Regions from separate parts of the Homo sapiens genome. Here region 1 is linked to region 2. Evidence: promoter capture Hi-C in 16 types of primary human blood cells and fetal thymus (Javierre and others, 2016). All regions are on one chromosome and are shown on one strand. Each heading gives the region's core, a stretch centred on a gene start or on the middle of the fragment in contact. The rest is flanking DNA. Distances are from core to core; before and after follow the strand shown.

The links. Contacts are between HindIII fragments. The CHiCAGO score rates a contact against its expected background, and 5 or more counts as called.
Region 1: a contact is called between a fragment that was not itself captured here and the fragment with the promoter of NIFK in region 2, in 2 of 17 cell types (total CD8 T cells and fetal thymus). The highest score is 8.6, in total CD8 T cells.

Annotation. Positions count from the first base shown.
Region 1 is chr2:120,249,078-120,256,401 of GRCh38, reverse strand. It overlaps RALB (RAS like proto-oncogene B), which reads right to left and starts at 3,550. Exons shown (of 5, transcript NM_002881.3): 1 at 3,422-3,550. RefSeq lists an enhancer at 2,498-2,767 and a silencer at 3,268-3,857. The HindIII fragment of the contact is 1,925 bases long and covers 4,560-6,484 here.
Region 2 is chr2:121,733,894-121,741,276 of GRCh38, reverse strand. NIFK (nucleolar protein interacting with the FHA domain of MKI67) reads left to right here and starts at 4,402. Exons shown (of 7, transcript NM_032390.5): 1 at 4,402-4,531; 2 at 5,527-5,664. The coding sequence starts at 4,427. RefSeq lists a silencer at 3,916-4,365 and an enhancer at 4,466-4,515. The HindIII fragment of the contact is 3,379 bases long and covers 1,324-4,702 here.

The sequences.
Region 1 (7,324 bases), core at 4,273-6,772, 1.5 Mb after region 2:
GGTAGGGACACAGCCAAACCATATCAGCCACGAATATACTGCTGCTTCCATCTTGATCATTATCATATTCATTCTCTCCCTCTCTCCCCACCCCCGTCAGATCACTTGCTCTGGGGAGAAAAGCTATGTTGTGAAAAGCCCTGTGCATAGGCCCACATGGTGTAGAACTGAGGCCTCCAGCCAACAGCCATGTGAACGTGCCATTTTGGAAACAGATCCTCTGGTCCCAGTCGAGCTTCAGATGACTGCAACCTCAGGAGAGACCATGAGCCAGAAGCACCCAGCCAAGCTGTCCCCAGATTTCAACTTCAGAAACTGTGTGAGATCATAAATGTCTGTTGTTTTAAGCTGCTAAGTTTGGGGAAATTTGTTATGCAGCAACAGAAAACTCATTCAAAAGGTAGGCAAACTTTACAGGCAGCCAGGCACGCAGGACCAAACTACTATATTTCCTTCATCTCATGCCGTATAGCTTGGAACAATGCTATATATAAAAAATGCCCACAAAGCACTGACAAAAGCAACAATGAAAACAATATATTGGTAATTATCAATTAATGGCATTTTTCTTTTCTGCATTTAGATTTCAACTAAAAAACAACTAGCCACCATCACCAAAAACAAAAACAGCCAGGAGAACACTAAGGAAAATTATAAGCAGCTACTTTTTTTAAAGTGACAAACTTGAAATTGAGACCTGGCTAGAATTTTGCAATTGCTTCTAGTAAGCACATATACCGTCCCTCTTTGACACTCACTTCCACATCCTCTTCATCTTTCTTTCCACTGTCACCTATCCAAGACTCATCAACCCTCTTGCCTACTGGCCCCTCTGCTTTTTGGAATATCTAAGAATATATGTACACATACACCAATATTTATATTCCTAGGTACCAAAAGAACTGAGGAGCTAAAGGAGACAGCCCATGGTCAAATCTCCAAGGCCACATATTTAACTGGTATGGCTTGGATCAGTGGTCTGTGCCAAGCAGACAGCTGATGCTCAGTAACTGTTAGTTTTTCTCCTCCTTAACTACTCCGCCATGTGATGAAGGAAGAGTTCCTTTTCCTCTGTGCTCGGCTCTCTTTGCGATAACATTCAGAACATACATTCATTTAAAAAAACAAAACGAAAAAAAAACCAAGCGTCTTGCATGTCTAGAGCAGGGGCTGTTTAGCAGTAACTGGAGCCAAGGAAAAGTGGGACTCCTGTATACCATCTGGAGACAAGTTACACTGGAAAACTACAGAGTTCACCTAGATCTCTTCGCACTCTAGTCTTACATTGTCTCCAAATTTAGCTTTCAAGAAAGGTCTCTAATGATGTTTCTAACTTCCATAAGTTACATGAGGGGGGTAAGAATTTAGCAACTAAATGCAAAGAGGCATAGTAGGATTACGTGATTTGGAAGAAAGAATTATCCCTGCCAGACGGGGTGGCTCACACCTGTGATCCCCAGCACTTTGAGAGGCCAAGGTGGTAGGATGGCTTGAGCCCAGCAGTTCGAGACCAGCCTGGGCAACATGGTGAAACCCCATCTCTACAAAAAATACAAAAATTAGCTTGGCATGGTGGTGCAAGACTGTACCAAGCTACTCGGGAGGCTGAGGTGGGAGACTCACCTGAGCCTGGGAGGTGGGGGCTGCAGTGAGCGGTGATCACACCACTCCACTCCAGCCTGGGAAATAGCGCAAGACTCTGCCCCCAAAAACAAACAAAAAAAGGATTATCTCAATTCTCAGGCTTAAAATTTTTCATGGAATCTCAAGCCATCTTCAGTCAAGGCAAGAATTTAGAACTTTTCTACCCTCATCTTCTACCAAAATCTCTTCATATGCCGTGGAAGACTCTAAATCCTGTTTATCCTTATGGTCTAGGTCCCAAGTTCCCAAAAGATATCTAATAACTTACACTATTTTCCACACACAATCCTGGGAAAATGTTCTATTCCTCGGGCAGAGGGAAATCTGGCTGAGATCTCCGATAAGAGTGCTGTTTCCAATGGGAAGCAATGTGAATGGGCAAGGAAGGAAAGCCCCAGATGTGGTCAGAATAAAGCAGACCGGCTGACAACTAAAGCCACGCACAAAGGATATGTCTCCCTGGCCTTCTTCTCCCCCGCTCCTATTTCGTTTAATCCTAACAATTAGGATAACTATCATCACCCTTCTACAGTTGCTGACTCTGGAGCTCAGAGGGGGAAAGATCGTGCTCCACATCACAACACCGGTAAACTCTCAGAACCTGCATCAAACCCAGGTCTTCAAACTCACCCCTCCTGTTTTTCCCAATATGCAGTGCTACCTTTCATGGTCGGCCCATTTCTGGGAACTTCGATACTGTGCTTCTATTGCTCCAGGTTTAAGGAGCATTCTGAGCCTTGACCGGTTCTGAGCTTTGACATCCAACAATCTTATGGCTCTGCTTGGAACATCAGTCATTGACACCTCTAAAAGATTCACTATCCCCTCTGATACTCCATGCCCACCATCCATCCCCAAAACTTCAGAAGAAATGAGGTTAGGAAACCAGGACAGAGCAGAAAGTGCACTGTTCTACAAGGGCTGAAGATGAGTCACAGGTAACCCAGATGAGCAATCAGCCAAGTCTCTTCCACGGCCAATTCATTCAGTCCGCCAGGCACAAGCACTTCTCTCCCGAAGACTCACCTGATAAGAACACCAAAGTTCCAACGTTTCTCGTTGGAAATGAGCACAGAGAGGACACTGCTCACACAAGCAGTGTGGACGCAGCAAGCTCCGCGCCCCGCAACCCTGCACCGAGCACGGTTAACCTCACACTCCCACAGGCGGCAAGAACCGGGACGGCGATGCCCAGTCCAGGCGCTTCCCCTTAGAAGCCCCTTCGCCGCTGGCCCCTATCAGAAAGGAAAGGGGAGGAGGCTGGGGGAGAAACAACTTTATGCTCATTTGCAAGACAGGACCAAAACAAAACCAGCAAACCGAAGCCCTTTAGGAACACCGCCCAGTTCACGGCGCGTGCAAGTTCCGAGGGCAGTTAAGTTTTTGCAACACTTCCCAGCCCTGACCCTGCCCAAGCCGCGGCCGGAGGACTGAGGAAGTGGACGGTCCCGAGCGGGAGGCCCGCGGCAGGAAGTGGAAGCAGAGCCATCTGCGGGATAGGGAAGGAACCGCGGCTACAAGGGAGAGGCGGAGGCCGCCCCCACTTCCTCAGCCCCAGGCAGCCCAGGAAGCCGAGACTCCCCCAGGGAGTCCTCCCGGAGCGGAGCGGGGCCGCTGCCGGGGCGTCGCCCTCCGCCGGCCTCGGGGCGCGACATGTCCTGCCGCCGCCCGGCCACAGCCCGGCACGGAGGGAGCAAGAGGCTGCGGGCGTGCGGCGTACCCCACTCCCCAGCCCGCGCCCCACCCCGCCCGGGGCCCGCGGGCGCCGCGCCCTTACCAGGGACCAGTCCCGCCGCCTCCGCCGTCCGCACCCGGCCCGCAGCTCTTAAACGCGCCCCGCCCCCTCCCGGGGCCGGACCCCAGCCGTCCTCCACCGATTTGTCATTGAGCTGCCGGGCTCGCTTTCCCACCCCCCGAGCGCGCCTCCGGCGTCGCCTAGGCAACCCCTCCTCTCGAGAGCGCGCCCTCGCTTCCGTTCTTGCCCTCTCCTCGGAAGCCACGCCCGTCGGGGGGCTGTCAGCCAATCCGAGGCTGATTTTCCAAGCAGCGGGCGGCCGGGGAGGAGGTTTCACCAATGAGAAGCTGCCCCAGGCACGGGGGGGCGGGCCCAGCGCGCCTGCCCCGTCCCCCTCTGTTTCTCTCTCTGCCCCTCGGACACGCAGCTGGTAACCCTGCGGCAGTGGAGGAGCTGCCCGCCGGTATTGAGGGCGGGTGCGGGTGCACAAGGTGGGGCGCCAGTTGTGGGATTCAGGCCAGGGCTAGGACGAAGTAATGGAAAGCAAAAGCGAAGGACAGACCTGATCATACAGAAACAGAAGAAAATTACGAGGTGGCGAAGAGTGCTGGAGCGCGGCGATGGGGATGCCGCCCGGGGGTCTTGGGGCGGGACTCCACCTGCCGCCACCACTCGCTTCGCTGATGACATCCCATTAGCAGTAATGGAGTTAGTGAGTGCATGGCGGAGACTGGACCCAGGCCGCCTACAAGGGCCAGAATCCCACCCCAGCCATAGCCTCGAGGCAGGAAGTGCAGTGGGCAAGCTCCCTGCCAAAGCCCAGGAACGTGTGATTTTGTATCCAGTACAGCTTCATCTCGGTGGATTTTCCTTCCTAACCACCTCCTCCTCCACAGGTTTTGTGACCGTGCTGACCCCTACGCAGACCTCATGAGAGTCACAAGCCATCGCAACTGACAGTTTAAACGTCTGCCTCTTATCTCTAAGGGAGGGAACTATCTCTTATGCAATGTGATATCCATGGCTGCTAGCACAGTGTAATTAATTCTTTCATTGTTGATCATTGTAAGTTAGGATGCATGTGTATACTATATTGGAGGCTTTGGGCCATGATTAGATTGCTATGTATCTACCAGATCCAGTCCCTCCATCAGCATCTATATCAAAAAGCACAGAAGCTTTACCTTAGTCTTAAGTGACCAACTTAACAAAAAAGTGCAATCAGAAGAATATCCTAGTGTTAGCCTACTAAGTATTCTGTTTTTACCATTCTCATTCACATTTAAAACTTTTATTGAGTGCTAATCGTATGACAGACACTTTGCTAGGTACAGTAAGGAGATGGGGTAGGAGGCTTCTCAAAGAGGAAGCTCCCTAGTATTTATAACCTAGAAGAGGAATCAGACCCAAACCTTTTCTTACGGAGTAACAGTTAAGTGCACAGGTTTGGAGTCTGGAAGCATAGGATTAAAGGAGGGCTCTACCTTGTGACTAGCAGTTACTTAATTAGGAAACTACTTCTGTGGGCTTTAGTTTCACCAGCTGCCCAATAGCAGCACCTCCATGCTATAGGTAAGAAGATGTACATGCAAGTCCACATAGAGCTCTCAGTACAGTGCTAGGAACTTGGTGAGTGCCTCAGGAATGTGAGCTTACATTAGTGATTGCCACCAGAGGCCACGATGTACAGTCAAGTGTGTGATCACCAATCTGGTACAGCCTTATCTCCCAAAGCCCATCTGTATCAAGTGTGACCGCGTGCAGCCTGGTGGAAAGGGCCTGCTGTGGTGGTACCCTTTGTCAAATGCAAGTATAGAGAGGAGAGCAGCTGCAGCAGCCTACCCAAGTGAAAAGGGTATGATAGTTGAGGGAACAGGGTCAGAAATCAGGCCACAGGCCAGGATTCTACTGTTCCCACCTGCCCCCCATCCCCTAGGACCCACAGCAGATGCAGGAGGTTTCCCCACCTTTTCTGGGGTGCTGAAGTGCCATTCCTTTGCATTGGTAACAGGATGCACAGGGCTTTCTGAGAAATGCTGCTTTCATTCTCTGCCTGCCTAGAACTCGGAGGGGTCCTACTGGGACTCCTCCAGCAGGATCATCTATTCAGATCCTGGACATGCCAGACCCTGAGCTGTGCAGTATATTCAGAGAGGAGTGGCAGGACCCTTTTGGCGGGGCTGTCTCACACAGGACACCAATAGGGGAAACGTGTCCCAACGGGAGAAGGGAACCAAGAGGCCACCAGCCTCAGCTGCCTCTAAGGTGGCTCATTCCAGGTCTCAGGGGACCTCTTGTCTGCTGAGTTTCCCTACCAGAACTCTGACTCCCAGCAGAGCCAGGGGCTTGAGCAGCAGAAATACAAGATCCCCAGCAGGACTCCTTAAGGATGCTGTAAACGACTGCTGCCATGGAAAGAGCATTCTAGACACTCCATCCTTCTAAAGTATTTATTGATTACTGTGGGAGTCTTTAGTGCTGTCTGACAAACATTTCTACTCCTCTCTTGTGAGCACTGGAAACTTCCTAGCCCTGTAGTTGGGTGGAGCCATGTGACTAGCTCTAACCGATCACTTGTGAGCAGAAATGACACATAATCATTTCTAGGCTGGAGAAATTAATTGCCAATATAAGACCCTCCAGAGCTCTCTTGTCCTTGGTATGGCTACTGAGAATGTTAGGAAATGTGACTGCTCCATCAGCCAGGGTTTCTACAATGAGCACAGGCCCCCTACCAACCTGTGATGGACATTTAGAATGACTGAGAAATAAGCCCTTATGGTTTGAAGACACTACGATGTGGGAGTTGTTTGTTACTGCACATAGCTTAGCCTGCTCTGACGGATGCAAGGTGAACAACTCACACAAAAGGACAGAGAAGAGGCCAGTAAACAGACAAGCACCCCAAAAATTACAAATTATGTCATTACAAATTATTTTAGACTGGGTGGTCAAAAAAGATCTCTCTTGGGAAGTGACATTTAAGCTAGGACCTCAAGGATGAGAAAAATCAATCTTAGCAAAAGATGGGGGTAGGAGGAAGGACAGGAGAGTATTTCAGGCAGAGGCATAAGCCTGTGCAAAGTCCTGAGGCAGAAGAAAGCTTGGTACTGCTGAGAATGGCCAGGAGGCCTGGAATGGTGAGCAGGGGAAAGTGAGTCACACAGGGCTGGAAGGGGAGGCAAGAGCCAGATGATGCAGGGGCTTCTCGGTTATACAGAGGAGTTTGAAATTTACTCCTAGTGCGGTAGAAACTGCTGAAGAGGTTTGATATGGTTTGGATGTGTGTCCCCTCCAAATCTCATGTTGAAATGTAATCCCCACTGTTGGAGGCGGGGCCTGGTGGGGGGCTGTTTTGATCATAGGGACAGATCCCTCATGAATGGCTTAGTGCTACTCCTTGGCAATGAGTGAGTTCTTGCTCTGAGTTCACACAAGGTCTGGTTGTTTAAGAGTGCGTGGCACCTCCCCGCCTATTCTTATCCCCGCTCTCAGTATGAGATGCACCTGCTCCCACTATGCCTTCCGCCATGACTGGAAGCTTCCTGAAGCCTCCCCAGGAACAGATGCCAGTGCTATGCCTCCTGTACAGCCTACAGAAACATGAGCTAATTAATAATTAAGCCTCTTTTCTTTATCAATTACCCAGTCTCAGGTATTTCTTTATAGCAACACAAAATGGACTAACACGGACGGGCGCGGTGGCTCACGCCTGTAATTCCAGCACTTTAGGAGGTGAAGGTGGGTGGATCATGAGGTCAGGAGTTTGAGACCAGCCTGGCCAACATGGTGAAACCCCATCTCTACTAAAAATACAAAAAAATTAGCCAGGCGTGGTGGCAGATGCCTGTAATCCCAGCTACTCGGGAGGCTGAGAAGAGAGTTGCTTGAACCCAGGAGGCAGAAGTTGCAGTGAGCCAAGATCATGCCACTGCACTCCAGCCT
Region 2 (7,383 bases), core at 3,153-5,652:
GAGAGCCCTCTCCCTCCTGGTCTCTCATGTGCCCTGCCTCACCCTGCTGCCTGCCCAGCCCTGCCACCGGCCCTCCTCAATTTCCGTGCTTGGCCCCCAATAGGTGCTCCAGGCCACAGGTGATAAGGGTGGGGTGGCATGGGGGGTGGAGGAGGCCTGGGTGATTCGTGCGGGAAGAGAAGCAGGTGACACACACTGAGGACTCAATAGTCTGCTCGGGGCTGTATGGAAATGCCCAGAGGCATCTTGATTGTTACAATGAGCAGGGGATGAGGGTACAAAAGTAGTGTGCACAGGACGGTCCAGCTCAGTGAAGAACTGTCCCACCCAAAGTGTCAGTAGCTCCCCATCTACATGCAAAATCAGAAGGAAGAATTAAAAACAAACAAACAAACAAAAACATCAAAAGGAAGAAAGGGAAGGAGGAAGGAAGGGAGAGAGGGAGGGAAGGAGGAGAGGGGGCCTGGCATCCATCTGTGAGCATCCCGGAGGTCCTCCAGGACCTGCCCTAACACGCAACGAGAACCCGACATACCAAGACAGGCCCAGGACCGGTGCTGTCCTCAGACCACGCAGCCTGTACAGCAACTGTGTTTTTCCCTGTGGCTGCCAGGATAACTTACCACAAACGGAAAGGCTTAAAACAACAGAAACATATTCTCTCACAATTGTGGATGCTGGTGGCAGCATCACTCCAACTTCTGCTTTGCCCATCACATGGCATTCTGCATATGTGCACGCCCAAAATGCTCTCTTCTCATAGGACACTAGTCACGGTTTACAGCTAACGCAAACCCAACAGGACCTCATCTTTGTTTTGTTTTGTTTTGAGACAGAATCTTGCTCTGTCGCCAGGCTGGAGTACAATGGCACAATCTCGGCTCACTGCAACCTCTGCCTCCCAGGTTCAAGCGGTTCTCCCACCGCAGCCTCCCGAGTAGCTGGGATTACAGGCACATGCCACCACGCTTGGCTAATTTTTGTATTTTTAGTAGAGACAGAGTTTCACCATGTTGGCCAGGCTAGTCTCGAACTCTTGACCTCAAGTGATCTGCCCGCCTCAGCCTCCAAAAGTGCTGGGATTACAGGCGTGAGCCACCGTGCCCGGTCATGACCTCATCTTAATGTGATTCCATCCTCAAAGACTCTCCAAGTACAGTCTCATTCACATGTACCCATGTACCAGCGATTAGGACTTGAACAAATCTTTTGAGGGTGACAGAATACATTCTGTCCCAGAATTCTGACCCAGTAATCAATGCCACAAATCTCTATTCCTGCTTCGGAGTGTGGTCTATGGAGTATCGGCCTCTTCTGGAAGCTTGTTAGGAACACAGAACCTGGGCCACCTCAGACCTACTGAATCAGCACCTGCCTGGTGCAGGCAATCCACATGCTCATTCAAGTTTGAGAAGCCTTGGATCACTACCCCCCTGGGGGGATGTAAGGCAAGACCAGGAACTCATAGAGGTGGAGGTGACTGGGAATACCTGAAAAAGGATTTCCATAGAGAAGTGCTTGCCGTCATTCCTTCCTGTATCCTCATCTCCCCTAAGTAGCTATGAGACATGTCAAGATTCCACCTTCAGGAAGGAGGGGAGTGTTCACACACACACACACACACACACACGCACACACACACGAGGACACGGATGGTACCTTCAGGGAACCAGTGAACTTATCTACATCCTCTGGAATTTGGGGGATACAGGGATTGTACCTGGTTTATACACCAACATCTGTGATGCCAGCCAGGAGGCCTGCCTGGCAGCAATCCCATGGCAGTGACAGACAAAACATGTGGCCCTTCTTAAAGGATCAGGATGATAAAGTCCACTTGGAAAGGCCCTTCCAGGAGGAGCCTCTGGGCACAGAGCTGACCTCGGCTGGCAGGCAGGTAGAGTCATGAGCAGCCAGGTGAGGGACACCTCAAAAGTGTGCTTGGAGACAAGGTGCCAGCAACCTGGCATTTGCAGCCTCTAAAACTCCCTGGCCACGTGGCACCTGCCAGCAAGGAGCCCCTTTCTGCTTTCTCCTCCCTCTCTTCCCTGTCCTAATCCTGGAAAGCCCAAAAACAGAAACTGGGGTGTACAGAGAAAGTGGAGCCAAGAATAAAGACGATGTGGACTGTGCTCCCCTTTGGGGATTTCTCTGCCAGAGACACTGAGCTGGGGAGAGGAGACATTTGATATTAGATTTTGAACGCGTGGAACATGCTTCTATTGACTGACATCTGAGGAGCAATCACAAGTGCGGAGCTCTCCCCAAGATTTCATCCTGGGGGGAGCAAGAACAAGCCCATGGAAAGGGGCAGCCCTGAAAAAGAATCAAATTGCTCTTGCTCGCTCACTCCCGAAAATCCAGCCTACCCATGAAAACACAATGGGAAGACAGCGCTTAACTGGAAGAACTGACTTTGCTACAGGGTCAGGGATGCCCCCTTGGGGGTGACGGTGGCGCTGAGCCGGAGGGTGCAGGGGTGAAGGAGGCGAAGACTGTGAGCGTGGGAGGCACGTCTGTCAGAGGAAGTGGGCTGGCCTCGCTTGGCACTCCCTCCCAGGGCCTCCACCTCAGGCCCACAGGCCACTCTTCGGGCACACACACCCTGGGCCGCCTTCACGGCTTCCAGAACACGGCCGCAGCTATCCCCTGACACCAGCTGTGCTTGATCTGTCGCTCTCGCCTCACCTCCCTGCTTCCTCGGCAATCCACTCCCCACCCTTCCTCTCCACTCAGTTACTCACTAGTATAATAGTATTTGAAAGGTACAAACAGGCCGGGTGCGGTGGCTCACGCCTGTAATCCCAGCACTTTGGGAGGCCGAGGCGGGTAGATCACTTAAGGTCAGGGGTTCTCGACCAGCCTGGCCAAAATGGCGAAACCTCGTTTCTACTAAAAATACAAAAATTAGCCGGGAGTAGTGGTGTGCACCTGTAGTCCCAGCTAGTCGGGAGGCTGAGGAAGGAGAATTGCTTGAACCCAGGAGGCGGAGGTTGCAGTGAGTGAGCCAAAATCGCGCCACTGCACTCCAGCCTGGACGACAGAACGAGACTCCGTCTCAAAAAAAAAAAAAGAAAAGAAAGATGCAAACAGCCACAGCCTCGCTTTAAACCCGCCCATCCCCTCGCATTTACAAAACCCCAGTTTCATACTTTGACACACAGTCATGGGGCTCCAGCCTGCCGCCTCGCAGCTCTTCCCTCCTGTGCTGGGCTCCAACCCCACTGCCGCGTCCTTCTTTCTAGACCTAGGAACACTGTGCAGGCCTGTCCGGTCCAGCGGACGGCAGGCGCTCGGTTCTCCACACCCCGCTCTTTAGCCTTCAGGCCTCGGTGCTAACGCCACCTCCTAAGGGGGACCCTCCGGCGCCACCCAGTGTGCCTCTCCCCCACAAGCCTCTTTGGTCTCTTAAAGCAGCCATGCTGCCCTCAGGCTGTAAGTTCTCCAAGGGCCGCGGACGGACGGGGCCACACAGGAGAGCTCACACACAAGTGAGTGAAAGAATAACCAAATTAGGGCCGGGCGCGGTGGCTCACGCCTGTTATCCCAGTACTTTGGGAGGCTGAGGCGGGTGGATCACCTGAGGTCAGGAGTTCGAGACCAGCCTGGCCAACATGGTGAAACCCCGTTTCTACTAAACATACAAATTAAGCTGGGAGTGGTAACGTACAAATTAAGCTGGGAGTGGTGGCGGGCGCCTGTAATCAGCTACTCGGAAGACTGAGGCAGGAGAATCGCTTGAACCCGGGAGGCGGAAGTTGGAAGTTGCAGTGAGCCGAGATTGCGCCATTGCACTCCAGCCTGGGCAACCAAAGCGAAACTCTGTCTCAAAAAAAAATAATAATAATAATAAGCAAATTGAGGAATGAGAGCAGCATCTCAAGGACACAGGTACTGTTTTGGAATTTATTTTAGACCTTTTTTGAAAGTAGGCGTGAACGTAATTGTTTCAGGCACTCTTAAGCGAAGCCAGCCGGCGCCCCGACAGCCGAGGGTGCGGGAGCTCCCCACGGCCCAGCCCCAGCCCCAGACCCCGCTGCCGCGCCTCGGCACGCCCCTGCGCCCCGCCTCCGCGCCTCGGCGCTACTCACGCCCCGCCCTCCGCTCCTCGTCACGCCCCATGTCGCGCCTCCGCGCGACTCACGCCTCTCCCAGTCTCTCGGCACGACCTCGTGCCCCGCCCTCGCCCCTGGCGCAATTTATGCCCCGCCCCGCGCCTCGCCACACCCCGTGCCCCGCCCCCGCTTCTCCGGGCAACTCCTGCTCCAACCCCGCGCCCGACTCATGGCCCTCCCCGCCCCTCGCCACGCCTCGCCTCGCCTTAGCGCTTCGCCCCGCCCCTGTCCTGCCTCTACTTCCGCCTCGGGGGAGCTGGGAGCCCGACGTTTCCGGGAGCGCCGCGTGGTTAGCGTCGGCGGCTTTTGGCATGGCGACTTTTTCTGGCCCGGCTGGGCCAATCCTGTCGCTTAATCCGCAGGAAGATGTCGAGTTTCAAAAGGAGGTGGCGCAGGTTCGCAAGCGCATAACCCAGGTGAGCAGGCACCCTGGCCCAGGCTGCGAGCGGGGGCGATGGACCGGGTCTAGAGGGTATCTGGGGTTGCACGGTTTCCGGCCCGGGCGCCCCTTGCCTTCGTGCTCGCCTTCATTACCTCCAGGGTCTCCCAAGTGGATTCGACCGAATCAGGGACCGACCTCTTAAGCTTGCAGGCCACGGTTTCCGAGACGAAAGGGTTTACGCTGTTCGGTAAATGATGGAGGGGTTTGGCCGCTGAGGCCCTGGAGCCTTCATGTGGAGGGTAACGGGGAAGTATTGGGGTGACAGAAGCAGTAGAAAGAACCAGCTGGAGGGAATAGGCTCCTATACCACAGGTTATCTCCGGGTTAGAGCTGTCACGCTTCCGCGTTTCCCCCAAAAATGGGAGCCCCAGACTTAACACATTCGGGAAGTTTGTATGCCGGGTTGGTGATCTGGGAGTTATTAAAATAGAGTATTTGCCAGGTTCCACTTGCTGACTAGGGCCCCTGACATCGCTTATACTTTCTGTGGTTTTTAGCATAAAATACACAGGAAAACTTAGAAGTTCCTGTTACAGAGGTAAGGCTATGATGACTGAGACGTTGAAAGGCTAATCTGTACCGTGAGAGTTAACAAGCGTATCGAAAATTTTTCGATGAAGTGCGAGTAAACAGTAATATGCATACCAAATTGAAGCCTACGTTTATGTAGAGTTCTCTGGGCAGAAGATCTAAAATGGCTTGTTCAAAGATGTCCTTGCTTATCCGTTGATTGACATAGTTATTGAGCTCTAATATTATACTGGGTGCTGGGATGCCAGGCTGGAAAGATAGTTGACTACTGCTTGACCATGGCCTTTGTGGGGAGAGAAACACTAAACAGCCAGTTCTTTAATTACTACTGTGGTAAGTGGAAATGCAGAATAGGTTCTTGGGCCGAGGGCTAGGGGTTTTGTTACAATGTGATTTTCTTATTTATATATTTAATTTACCTGGTCTTTACGTCTTTAGCGAAAAAAACAAGAACAACTTACTCCTGGAGTAGTCTATGTGCGCCACCTACCTAACCTACTTGACGAAACCCAGATCTTTTCATATTTCTCCCAGTTTGGCACTGTGACACGGTTCAGGCTGTCCAGAAGTAAAAGGGTAAGATTTTTGCAGTTGGATTTAATGTTTTGTTTTTCAAATGTGTATTATCCTTGACATTAAAGAGCACGTTCACGCATACATTATTGCTTATCAGATTTCATTCCAAAAAGGAGAGTGGAGGAGGTTTAGAATCTGAAACAGCTACAGGAGCAAAATCAGTATTATTGTAAAAGTTTGTTTTTTACATTTCTCCAAATCCTTACATTAAATTGACAGTCCTGGTAAATGAGCTTTAGTATGAGGCCCAGGTTTATACATTTTCTTGTGTTAGCCTTTGGTACAAGCATCCTTATAATAGCAAAGGTTTATATAGTGAATAGTTAAAGGTGAGGACTCTGGAGTTGGACTGCTGAGGTTTGGGGTCAGGCTCTACACCTTACTAGTTAGAGTGATATGACCTTACCATGTTTCAGTGTTGTGATCTGTTAAATATAAGTAAAACTTCCTGGGAGTATTTAGTCAAAGGTTAAATATAAAGTCTTTAGAGGATTGCTTGGTACACAATAAACACTATATAAGTATAATTACTATTTGTGTCATACCTGCCTTCTAATGAGAAAACGCTTTACATAGCTTGTTTCAATAGTGGAGGAGTGACCCACTTTCTTTTCTTTCCCCGCACATAAACTTTAATTGGTTGTAGCCATAGACACCTATTTGATTTAGCATGTGGGGGATAGGGTGCACATCCATCATCTGTTAGTTGTCGTAAAGATAGATTGTAGGTAGAATTGAGGTCCCTTTTGTACCCTTCCCAGTGCTCTTCAACTTCTTTAATTAGGGAATTAAATTCACAAATTCAGTTTTCTTTTTTTTGAGACTGAGGCTTGCACTGTCGCCCGGGCTGGAGTGCAGTGGTACAATCTCAGCTCACTGCAACCTCCGCTTCCCGGGTTCAAGCAATTCTCCTTGCGTCACCTTCCCAAGTAGCTGGGATTACAGGCGCCTGCCACCATGCCTGGCTAATTTTTTGTGTGTTTTACTAGAGACGGGGTTTCACTATGTTGGCCAGGCTGGTCTCGAACTCCTGACCTTGTGATCCTCCCGCCTCGGCCTCCCAAAGTGCTGAGATTACAGGCGTGAGCCAGTGCGCCCGGCCACAAATTCAGTTTTCATTGCTATATATAAGTTTTTACTATATATATATGTACTAGAATACATATGTGTACATATATAAATGTACATATGGTATTATTTTAAAATTATATTACTCTATCATTCTTCAGCTGAATTTTTGTATTCAATAATCTGAGCTTTATCCATGTAACTCTATTGCCTTTGTTATCATCATTGCTCATTACTTAGGTTACTAAAGTTTATCCACCCTCCTATTGAACATTAGGTTTTGTTTTGGGGGGCGATCTCGGCTCACTGCAACCTCTGCCTCCCAGATTCAAGTGATTCTCTTTCCTCACCCTCCTGAGTGGCTGGGATTACAGGTACCGGCCACTGCACCTGGCTAATTTTTGTATTTTTAGTAGAAACAGTGTTTCTACTAAACACTGTTTTGGCCAGGCTGGTCTCAAACTCCTGACCTCAGATGATCCGCCCACCTCGGCCTCCCAAGGTACTGGGATTACAAGCATGAGCGAGCCACTGTGCCCAGCCCGAACATTAGGTTTTTTAATATTTTTAACTCTTTAGATTAAGCTGCTAGGAACAATCTTTGTACAGGTATAGGCAGAATTTTCTAGAAGAGTATTTTGCAGACTTTGG